Regions from separate parts of the Homo sapiens genome. Here all the other regions are linked to region 1. The links are contacts of gene promoters, found by promoter capture Hi-C in blood cells and fetal thymus (Javierre and others, 2016). All regions are on one chromosome and are shown on one strand. The core of a region is centred on a gene start or on the middle of the fragment in contact, and the rest is flanking DNA. Distances in the headings are between cores, read along the strand shown.

What was found. Contacts are between HindIII fragments. The CHiCAGO score rates a contact against its expected background, and 5 or more counts as called.
Region 2: a contact is called between a fragment that was not itself captured here and the fragment with the promoter of SMPDL3A in region 1, in 1 of 17 cell types (M0 macrophages). The highest score is 7.3, in M0 macrophages.
Region 3: a contact is called between a fragment that was not itself captured here and the fragment with the promoter of SMPDL3A in region 1, in 1 of 17 cell types (M0 macrophages). The highest score is 6.7, in M0 macrophages.
Region 4: a contact is called between the fragment with the promoter of HINT3 here and the fragment with the promoter of SMPDL3A in region 1, in 1 of 17 cell types (M0 macrophages). The highest score is 7.3, in M0 macrophages.

What each region holds. Positions count from the first base shown.
Region 1 is chr6:122,787,869-122,790,610 of GRCh38, reverse strand. It overlaps SMPDL3A (sphingomyelin phosphodiesterase acid like 3A), which reads right to left and starts at 1,353. Exons shown (of 8, transcript NM_006714.5): 1 at 1,153-1,353. The coding sequence starts at 1,264. RefSeq lists enhancers at 542-1,041, 1,042-1,543 and a silencer at 1,033-1,327. The HindIII fragment of the contact is 3,428 bases long and covers 1-2,742 here.
Region 2 is chr6:118,710,992-118,713,733 of GRCh38, reverse strand. No RefSeq gene overlaps it. Among named protein-coding and RNA genes, the nearest start is that of CEP85L, 61 kb to the right of the region's middle. The HindIII fragment of the contact is 825 bases long and covers 899-1,723 here.
Region 3 is chr6:119,308,790-119,311,531 of GRCh38, reverse strand. All of the region lies in intron 2 of MAN1A1 (mannosidase alpha class 1A member 1), which reads left to right. Among named protein-coding and RNA genes, the nearest start is that of MAN1A1, 40 kb to the left of the region's middle. The HindIII fragment of the contact is 1,660 bases long and covers 587-2,246 here.
Region 4 is chr6:125,955,454-125,958,195 of GRCh38, reverse strand. HINT3 (histidine triad nucleotide binding protein 3) reads right to left here and starts at 1,426. Exons shown (of 5, transcript NM_138571.5): 1 at 1,018-1,426. The coding sequence starts at 1,218. RefSeq lists enhancers at 204-253, 1,314-1,413 and a silencer at 924-1,143. The HindIII fragment of the contact is 9,214 bases long and covers 121-2,742 here.

The sequences.
Region 1 (2,742 bases), core at 104-2,603:
TGAGTCGTGAGGACTTGGCCTTCAAAGAGAAGATATTTGCCCTAGAGCGCTCCCAAGTCCTGAGAAAGCACAGAGGGAGCGAAAGAGGTTTCAGCACTAGGTGCTGCTACCGAGTCTCAGGGACAACTCTCCCCTAAAAGAAAACAGAACCCCACTTCTCTAATTTTGTTTTTCCTCTTAACAGTGCAATTATTTTTAAAGGGAGTTGAGGAGGTGAGGGCACCTTGATTTTTGGAACTGGAGGCTCGGATGGCATTGTACAATCTCCCACCAAAATGTATCTATTCTGGACCAGTGAGTCTCAAACTTAGCCGAAAGGAATCATGCGGAGGGTGGGTTAAACAGCATACTGTGGAAGCCCAACGCCGGCGTTTCAGATTCAGTAGGTCTGGGATGGGCTGGAAATTTGCAATGCTAACAATTTTAAGTGCGGCGGCTGCTGCCACCGGTCCAGGGCACACTTAAGAGAATCACTACTGTAACGGGCACTGTGTTAAGTGCTGGGAGTGAATAAAATGGGTCCCGCCCGCAGGAAACCTAGTGGACATCCAGGTGAAATGAAGTCCCCGTGAGTTCCACGGTAGACTAAGGGGTGAGTCTACCCGAGGGTGCTTTCGCGCTCTGGCTGGGTGAGTGGCAGAAAAAGCCACTGATCTCGGTCGAGCAAGACAGAAGATAGTGTGAGTCACGCTGAAATTTACTTCCCTGAGCTGGTGGGGAAACTGCAGTCCCCCTCCATTCAGGACCGATTAGGGGCCTCTTGCTGTGCTGGACATCGGACTCCCAGCTTCCTCTTCCCTTGAGTCCCGCAGCTTTTCCTTCCTTCCCCAAGGAACAAAACAACTGAGATGCAGGATGTAAACAAAAGCCAGGCTGGCGAAATCCGGCCGACGCGCCCTTGGAGCGCCCCCACCGGCGAGGGCATTTCCCCCGCCCAGCCCCGGCCTCCCGGCTGGACGCCCTAACGCTGTAGTCCCTTGGTCGCCCTCCCCGCGCCCACCAGCCGTGGTCAACGCCGGACGCGTCAGGGGCCCCGCTAGCCCGAGCCTCTGCCGGGGGCAGCTGCCCCCACGCACTTTCTCCTGCTGTGCGCAGGCGCCGCCGCTCCGCGCTCTTTGCCGGCTGGGAAGAGAAGGGTCGCGGACAACTCACCTATCGCCGGAGGAGGATTCCTGCCGCCTGCGGGCGCCACGGGCAGCCCGAGGCCGGAGCGGCAGTGCCAGGCAGTCAGCAGGCAGCAGACGAGTGCGCGCACCAGCGCCATGGAGGGCCGCGGGGCTGACCTGGAGGTTCGGGCTGTCCCGCAGCTCCACTCGGACCGTCAGGCCTGAGGGTGAGGCGGAGACAGAAGACGGCTGCGGGTGTAGACGTCCGACTGATCACGTGCAAAGGCAGATTCCGCAGCGAGTCAGTTCGCCTGACCTTCAGCTGCTGTTTAGCGATGATCTGTTCTCGTATTTCTTAGCGTCAGTGTTTGGCCTAGGAAGGAATGTACTTGTAGAAGCTCAAATTCCGACTCGTGTATCAGTGGTGCAGTTGATGTCAAACACTGACATACTGGTGCTTGGGGATAGAGAAAGACATTCAATTTAGTAAAAGCCAGAAGGAGGGAGAACAAGATCTCTCAAATCCGTGTGTAAAAAGGAAAAAGCAGGGAGTTTTTATTCTGCTAGAGAATAAGAGAGGGGGATTTTCAAAGAATCCAGGGGAAAAGTCTGTTTCTTCAGTCTCAGATAACACCTTTGAGCAATTAGACGTCCAGGCATCCGCAGCTGGTTGCAAAGCCCTTGGAGGTATTCATCCCTTCTGCAAACATTTTTGTGACCCTGAAGTTAACCTCTTTGTTCTTGACGAGGAAGCAGTACCTCAGCAGTTTATAATTATATTGTGGAAACAAGGAGAATATTGGGCAAAAAGCGAGTGGTTAAAATGTGCAAGCAAGCAGGAGCCTGATCAGAATTTTCATTATTTCAGTCACTAAAAAATGCTGGGGTGCTGAAATCTCAACGATCCCGGTTCCATTCTTGGGCCAACCTACCCCAGCTTTAATGGGTAGGGCTCCTCAGTAGAGGTGATGCAGAGAGCCCTGAAGTATCATGATTTGAAGGAAATCAGCAAAAGTTATGGATACTGCAGTGGATCTCGAATTGAAGTCTCTGAACTGGGAACATTAGCACCACCTGGGAACTCTAGTTAGAAATGCAAATTCCCAGGCACCACCCTAGACCTGTTGAGTCAGAAACCTGCTGGAGCCCAGCAGTTTGTGTTTTCACAAGCATTTCAGGTCATGTTAAAGTGATTGTGATGTTTGAAAACCAATGCTCAAAGATACGACGTTTTGTTTTTTGTTTTTTTTAAACTGCCGGGAAGAGAAGGGTCTTAGAATTAGAACATGTTCTGAAATCATGCTTTATGCATTCCAGAGATGCATGGAAATCATAAGTAGAGGTGGTTGATTTGATGCTTCCACGGAACTTTTTTGAATATACTTCTGGCAAAGAAGTAAGTCTATACAAAGAAGTAAGCAAAGATAAGTCTGGCAAAGAAGTAAGTCTATACAAAGAAGTAAGCAAAGATAAGTCTGGCAAAGAAGCCAGAATCCCGAAACTGTGCTGGATCCTGTATTCTGTGTTCCTTCTCTCACCGTTTATGAGGATGCTGATCTCTTGGAGATGACAAGCTAATAATTTAAATTTATAGGGCGTGGAATTCCTTTGCAGAAGAAAATGCTTTCCATAATTA
Region 2 (2,742 bases), core at 62-2,561, 4.1 Mb after region 1:
AGCATGACTTTCATAAGTATATTTTGTGCCTATCATAAATGGGAACAATTTTAGCCCCATAACAAAAGAAACAGCACAATATTCTTTTTGCTAAGAATTCTGAATTTATTATATTTAAAGTCTTGATTCCGTTTCTGATGGAGATTGGGTTGTTATGCTGGTTGTCATCCACAGCCAAATGCAGCCAAAATTGGGTTTATTTTCTCTCCTTGTGCTCCTTACAAACGCTTAGCAGGTCTGAAGTTCTCTTTGTTGACAATGGCTCCATCCTCCTGTCAGCTTTCTATGATCCTAACCTTGTTAAACCTTTTCCTCTATCATTTTGTCCAGAAAAATCACCAATTCCATGATTCCTTGTCCTACAGGATTTTCAAAGCTGTGCACTGTCTCTGTTCTCACAGGTTCAGACCAGCTTGGACCTAAGCATTGTTAGTTAGACAATGGAAATAGCCTTATTTGTCTCTTGTGTCTAGCTTTCTCGGTCAGACCATCCTGGCCAGCAGCAAACATTCTTTTCATCACTTGCCTGACAAATTTAAATCAGGATTATTCAGCAAGCATTCTGTCAGCTTATTACTCATCTCATTGTCTTGTACGCCTTATTGCAGCCATCAAACCCTTCATTGTTCCATCCTTTAACCACATCCACTTCTGAGGCATCCACATACTCTTCTGCCTGCCACTTTCCACCAAGTGATCCACTTCGTCCCTTTCCAACACTGCCCAAGATTGCCCTTTGTCATGAAGTTTCCCAAGAGTATATGTGATTTCCCAAAACTCTCTTCAACATCCTTTGATCCCTTAGGCACTGAATTGTACAATATAACCAAAGGTGGAAATTAAAAAATTACATGGAATTTTGTTTGTACTTCTACCCTCACCATAAATTGTTCAAGCTTCTTTTGTCCAAGAGTAAGGTCTCCATTTTGGCACAACACCCGAACCTTGGGTGCTCTCTACACACAGGACAGGTTTCCATCAGCTCATGCTTAGTGCAGCGTCATCTTTAAAAAGCTCCACATCTTCCTTTAAAACACAGAAGTTAAAAGATCCTTTCCTGGGCTGGGCGCGGTGGCTCACGCCTGTAATCCCAACACTTTGGGAGGCCGAGGCGGGCGGATCACGAGGTCAGGAGATCGAGACCATCCTGGCTAACATGGTGAAACCCCATCTCTACTAAAAACACAAAAAAATTAGCTGGGCGTGGTGGCAGGCGCCTGTAGTCTCAGCTACTCGGGAGGCTGAGGCAGGAGAATGGCGTGAACCCGGGAGGCGGAGCTTGCAGTGAGCTGAGACCATGCCACTGCACTCCAGCCCGGGCAACAGAGTGAGACTCCGTCTCAAAAAAAAAAAAAAAAAAGAAGATCCTTTCCTGTGCTATGTAACTGAAACTTCTCTTGCTGGATTTCATCCACCCACTCAACAACTTGATCTTATTTATAAAGACTTTCCTCTGTAAGGAAATCATTGACTCTAAATCTGAGCTTTAAAATAATTCTTTTTTCTAAATCTTATTTACATGTTGAATGGCAAAAAAAAAAAAAAAAGGATTTGAGATTTTTAAAAAGCAATTTCTGTCTGCAGACAGACAAATTGTGAAACTGTCAACCTGGAGTTAAGATGCCCGTTAAGCTATTCAATTAGAATATGTTTATTTTGTTAAATAGTTGATATTTGTTAGGTAGATTCATATATTATATAAACTTATCCCCACAATAAAGCTTGGCAATGGATTTCATTATCCTCATATTATAGACAATGAAACCAAAGCTCAACACAAGGTCACCAAGTTACAGGTGGTAGAGCAAGATTGGTGCTCTGGTGTCTAGCCATCTAAGCCCAGTGTTCTTTCTTACTCCTGAACCCACAACCTCTGGTTAGCTCCAAGCCTCCTAATGAGAAGGAGGTGAAGGACCACACTGCATGACTGACAATGCTGCTGAGGTCAACAGACCTATGGGCAATGTGGCATGTTGATCAGATATTTAATTCCCAAATGGATTTGGAATTATTTCCCGGTGTTTCATTCAGTTCCACCGTTTTGTCTATTTATGAGTTAGCATACACTTTCAGTTATCAAAGCTTTATATTTCAGCATCTGGTAGAGCTAGTTCCTCCCTCATTAGACTTTTCCCCCTCAGATTTTTCTTTGTGCTTTGAATCAACTTAGTTCACAAGACCATTATGAATTTTTTTGTCATATATCAAATTTATAGCTTAAATCATGAGAGTTGACATCTTTTTTCATTTTTGAAACAGAGTTTCGCCCTCGTTGCCCAGGCTGGAGTGCAATGGCGCGATCTCAGCTCACAGCAACCTCTGCCTCCCAGGTTCAAGTGATTCTCCTGCCTCAGCCTCCCAAGTAGCTGTGATTACAGGCATGTGCCACCAAACCCCCCCGCTAATTTTTTTGTATTTTTTTTTTAGTAGAGACAGGGTTTCACCATGTTGGTCAGGCTGGTCTCGAACTCCTGACCTCAGATGATACATCTGCCTTGGGCTCCCAAAGTGCTGGATTACAGGTGTGAACCACTGTGCCTGGCCAAGAGTTGACATCTTGATAATATTTTCCATCTTCCTAATAAAACAAATAGATTTTTCCATCTGCACTAGTGTTCTTTTGTGTTTCCCAGTACTCATGTCTTTGTGGCTTTCCCAATCATAAAGGTAAATCTTTCTATCACTTTTTGAATCGTGTTTCAGTGTTGCTTTCTTTCCCTCTCTCTTCCTTCTTTCAAACAG
Region 3 (2,742 bases), core at 167-2,666, 3.5 Mb after region 1:
CCCCCACTACACAGCAGTACCTTGGCACAACTAAGATTTTATGAAAGCTAGTGTATGAACCTGCATAGCTAAAGATTACCCCACATTGCCTTACACCTGGAGAGGACCTTTCTACTCTTCCTTTCTTCCTCCATCTTTTGGATACCAAATAGTTGTGTATATTTTTAAATGTATATATTGATAAAGAGCTTGTGTACAATGTAAGTTTGCCTGGTTTCACATATATTTGTCCCTCCTATTTATGTGTTATACTAGGAAAAATTATGAAGCTCTTTTAGATTGCAAAGATCACAGACATTCTTAGGTTTTTAATAAAAGTAATTATAATGCCTAAAATGCATTGAGCACTTAATGTGTGTCGGGCAACATGTTAAACTCTTTACATGCCTTGTTTTATTTAATCATCACCACAACCAGTGAGGTGTTTTTATTCACATTTTGTGTGTGCAGAAAGTGGGCTCAGAGAGATTAATTGCCTTGCTTAGAGTCACACTGACGATGGCAGAGCTCAGATATGGACCCAGTTTCTCATATGCGTTCGCCCGTGACCCGCTTTTACGCCTTACTCCTCAGTAAATGAGAAGCTTTTCTACAAGTACACATAGGGAAGTAAACAAACAGTCTCAGCAGGCAAAGAGGAAAAGGGAAGATGATTCACCAACATTCAGGACTCCACAGCATTGTTGATAGTTCTATAGCTGCTGTACAGGCCTAACACAGTTCCACTGGGGAACCATCCAAGTGGCAAAATCATCTGTACCTCAGCCTCCTCTTAACTTTTTTCTCCTTGCCTTTCTTGTCTTCTTTCTCATGGCTTTTACTGCTTCACAGCCCTTTCTCCTGTGTATTTGTACTTCTCTGTTTCTGTGTCACTCTCTGGCCTCTAGGTTCTCTCTGAATGTTTCCCAGTTACACTTCCCTAGGTAGAGTGGATGGTTGGGTTGACTCATCCCATCCATTAGTGAGAACTACACACCAGGGCGCCCCACGTTGGAGGCTCATGGCTAGCTCTCAGCAATCTGCCTTTGAGTTGGGCACCAGGCCCTGGTTCATTCAGCTGGGCCAGCATCACATCCTACAAACTACGGAAATTTTATGTAAGAACCCATAGAAGGAGGCCATAAGTGGGACTTGAACTTGTAGGCTTCAGTGAAATAGGGCAATGAAAGCCCAAAGTTTTCCTGAGATCTGTCTGGAAAAATCATGTAATTTTCAAAGACTTTTGATGTGTCTAATATAAAAATTTAAAGATTATGTGTTTAAAACTTCAGCAAATGGAAGTATTTGCTAAGAGTAGTTCTAGCAATAAATATGCAAGATATGAAGTCTATGCATACTAGGGAAATTCCAACGTATTTCTTTCTTCAGCGTGCTTGATTAGATCAGGACATTAAACTTAATTTGTTAGAAACAACAATAGAGTTGTATACAACATTTAATTAGTTTTCTTACTCTTCTATATTCACAAACATTTACTGAGTATGTAAACAGGCAGTATCTTATGTTTCCATACATTATCAATGAGATAGTAAATGAGACAGCATCCTGTATACTTCCCTTTTAGTCCTTTAGAATCTTTTCATAGTGTAGCAGATACTCAATAAATGACCTGGCCTAATTAATGAGCCCTGATGCCAATTAAGAAGAAAGTACAAATCAAAGAATCTTTTCTTATAAGCATGGAGTCAAGGGGAAGTAATACTATTTCTTTAATGCCTTATACCCAATTTAATATTTTCTGGGTTAAAATAATGGGTTGCAATTATGAAATTTTGGTCCTTTGTTTCCTTTCACACAGCGTGTCAGCTCTACCTTTCACCAGGAGCAAATATACGTATTCAGGAAGAAAACATCTTTGGCTTGCTTTCAGTTTATCTTTTTTTGTGAGGGTTTCACTACTGCATTTGAAATTTGGGCCCATTTTACTTCTACGTGGAATGTCAGGCTTTAGAACCCTAATTAAGTTAATGAAAGACTACAAAAGAAACCTAAGGAGCCTGTGAAGAGAGGTGATCAATTCTGTCCTTGTTAGTAGTTAACTTTTAGAAGTGACTTCCTTGTCCTGCCAGCTCATGAGAACTGGGTCTAGAGAAATTAAATGACTTTATCCTCATCGCCACTCAGCTGGGTAATGGCTTAATACTACAAAATTAAAAGCTGGTAGCCTTTTGATGTTTCAAATATTTGTGTAAGTCGTAAATCTGAGTTAACAAGTTGATTTTATATGTGACTTTTAAATTGAAGCTTATAGTTATTCTATGCATGTGTACACACACACTCACACAATGTCTTACAGTTAGCTTTAATGTGGTAAATCATTTCCAGAAGTGATCAGCTGGTGGAATTGGTTAACAATATGACTGTTCCTCTTTATAATTGCTGGATAAACCCCTCCCAGTGCTTTGTTCAGGGCATTTTGACCACATCATTTTCGTCTTTTCTAACTTTAACTCATAGAAATCCCATGGGATCAGGAACCCATTTTGAGAAATATGTCAGCAACTTTTGAAATGTAGGAAACTAACCAATTAGTGTCAGCTTTTCCCTTGAGGGAAGAAGATAGGAAAAGTTAATATATACTACAGAGGTTACTTTAGGAGATCCTTTACTAGTGGTACATTGTATAAGTGATCATTTTTGACAAAGCTGAAACAAATTATCGTAACTTTTTTTTCTGTTTTGATGTTCAGTATATTCCAAAAGCTTTTGAATTTATAAAGTATCTTTGGAAATTTACAGGAA
Region 4 (2,742 bases), core at 177-2,676, 3.2 Mb before region 1:
GGACATTATTCTCTCCATTTCCTCATCTGATCAACTCCTACTTATTTCTTCATGTCTCATTTCCTCTGGAAAGCCTTCCCTAATTCTTCAGAGCTGGGTTAGATGCTCCTCCCACAAGCTTACAAAATACTGTAAAATCACCTGACCACAGCACGAGGCATTGTAACTGGCTACCTCCTCTGTATACATTCCGCCCTTTAGATTGTAAAATCGGGACACAGACTGTCCCTTATCTTGCTCAAAAACCTCCAAAACAAGGTGCTTAGAAGGAATTATATTTATTTTTTAAAAAATAAAGGAATGTTTACTACAAAAGACACAATCTTTGGAGCTAATTCTCTCAAAAAGTTGTTTCTATATGGACAAGTAAAACCAACAGAATAAAGTGTGTGCCAGATTATCCGTTTAAAAATATCTGGGCAAAGTCTTCATGCTCTGAAAATGTCCACGCATCCCAACTGACAGTGGAATTCAGAGGCAATTCAATAATAGTTTGACCTCAGACCCACTCCCTCCAGCCTATTTTCTGCCAATCTAACAAACAGCTTTCCACAATTATCATTACCTATTTTCTACTAGTTTTCTCATCAGTATCGGTATTAGAGTGTGCAGGATTTAAAATCAGTATCTTGAAGGTGGAGAAGAATCCTTGTAATAAAAGCAGAGGCCACAAAATGTTATTTGTACCAACTACCTGGGTACCTGCAAACATAGGCCAAAGCATTCGGCCCTGTCATTCACTCTTTGCCCCTGGGAACAGCAAAGATACCGCTGGAGCCACTGCCTGTCAGTCCCCTAGGAGTGAGTCTGTCATCAGCACCCGGACCCTGCAGAAAGGCCCGTAGTGGGCGTATCCCCAGCTTCCCCGAGCCCCATCCACACAGAGCGGCCCTGCCTCTGCGAGCTGAGTAGCGATCGGGATCCTCTGCACCCGCTCCACAACGGCGAGGCCTCCCTGCCGGAGCTCCGAGGGGCGGCCAGGTCCTCACCCACCCCCGGCCGCGCGTCGCCGCCCACCTCGCAGTGCAGGAGTTCGGTGCCCGGGTCCTGCCGCCCCGCGATCCGGCAGAACACGCAGGTGCTGTCGTAGTCCTTGGGCTCTGGTGACTTGCCAGCGGCTTCACAGGTCCCCACTGAGGAAACCGTAGTTTCTGCAGTCGCCGAGGCCTCACAGTCGGGGGCCAGGCCGGCGCTGCGGTTCACCTGTTCCTCCGCCATTGCACCCGCCCCTCGCGGCCTAGAGCCTCGGCCTCTCCAGGGCTACCGGGCCCGCGCAGTCTCCGCGTCCCGCACCTCCTCCGTTTTACCTCGAGACGTCGCCCCTCGCCTGACGCTGGGCGGTGATCCAGGCTTTGGGGAGAGGGAAGGAGACGCGGTGAGGAACTTCAAAGCCGGAGGCCGGCCTCAAAACCGGCTGCCACTAGAGGGCGCGCAATGGCGCTGCCGAGAGTCGTCCTGACCCCTGCGCCTCGTTGGTAATGACGCACGACGTCTGCCAAGTCGCAGAGCGCCCAGCGCGTCGTGGTGACATCACAGAGGCGCGGGAGCGTTTGACATAATGGAGCTTGTTGGGTGTTCTGGACAGGCGTTCTTCAAAGCCCATAGTATAGCGTGTCCAAATATTGTATTACGCTGCCGTTTTTTTAAAAAAAAAAACAAAAAGTTTTTTAAAGTTTGATTTTTAAAATTCGTAGGTTTTTAAAGAATGAGCAAAATTCCTAAAGCCTTGTTTTCAACAGACATCATGTTTGCTGCTTTTTCAGCCACGATAATTGTAGGAGTTTAAACTCAAAATGTCCAAAACTGACCTTTACATCTCTGTTGACTTTTTATTGTTGTTAACAGCACAGTTAGATCAAACTAGCGACCTTTTTTTTAATCTCACATTCCTCATATACAAGTAGATGTGGAGTCCTATAGTCAATACTCTGAAATATCCCAGAAATTCAATGCCAGTGCCTCATAATGCCTCACCTAGACCAACGCAATCACCTTCTAACTTACTTATTGATTTTCCTGTCACTCAGACAAAACCTTCTGTAACTATGTGCTCAAAGAAAAAGTACCAGTTCCTTAGCTTGGTGTTCAAGGTGGACTCTGATTTGACCTCAGCTTTTCGTTTTGTGATACTTCCCACTTGCTGAGCATCTAAAACATGCCATATATTTCTCTAATTGTCAAAAAACGCAAGGTTGGTTTTATAACCACCGCTCTAGAGATGAAGGACCAAACTCAGAGTTGCCCAGTCCCACACAACTAATTAATAGTGACAGAGTTTAAGATCAAGGTTTGTCTAACTCCAAAACCCACCAACCTTTTTGACATACAGCACTCCTTTTTTAACACCAAAAAATTTGTTGGACTAGCTCACTATAGTAGTTACACCCTTGGTATTTGCTGATTTAGAAAATACATAACAAATTGGGAATTCAGTAATGATTTTTAATGGATTTATGTTGTAATAAAAAGTGGTTGTATGTGTTTTGAATTGTTGTACATATACATTCAAGACATTTTTCATTCCTTTTTGTAGTTGGCCCGTAGTTTGGGGAACCACTACAATAGCTTCACTGCCTTTCAGCACCCCAAAGCAGAGTTCAGAATCAATACATTAGAGTTTTGCCAAATTTTAGTATTCACAATTTCCATGCCTGTACTACACCTTCACATCACTGCTTTTATTCACACAGTTCTCTCTCAAATATTCTTGTTTCCATCTCTTCACTCCAAATTCTACCTTCC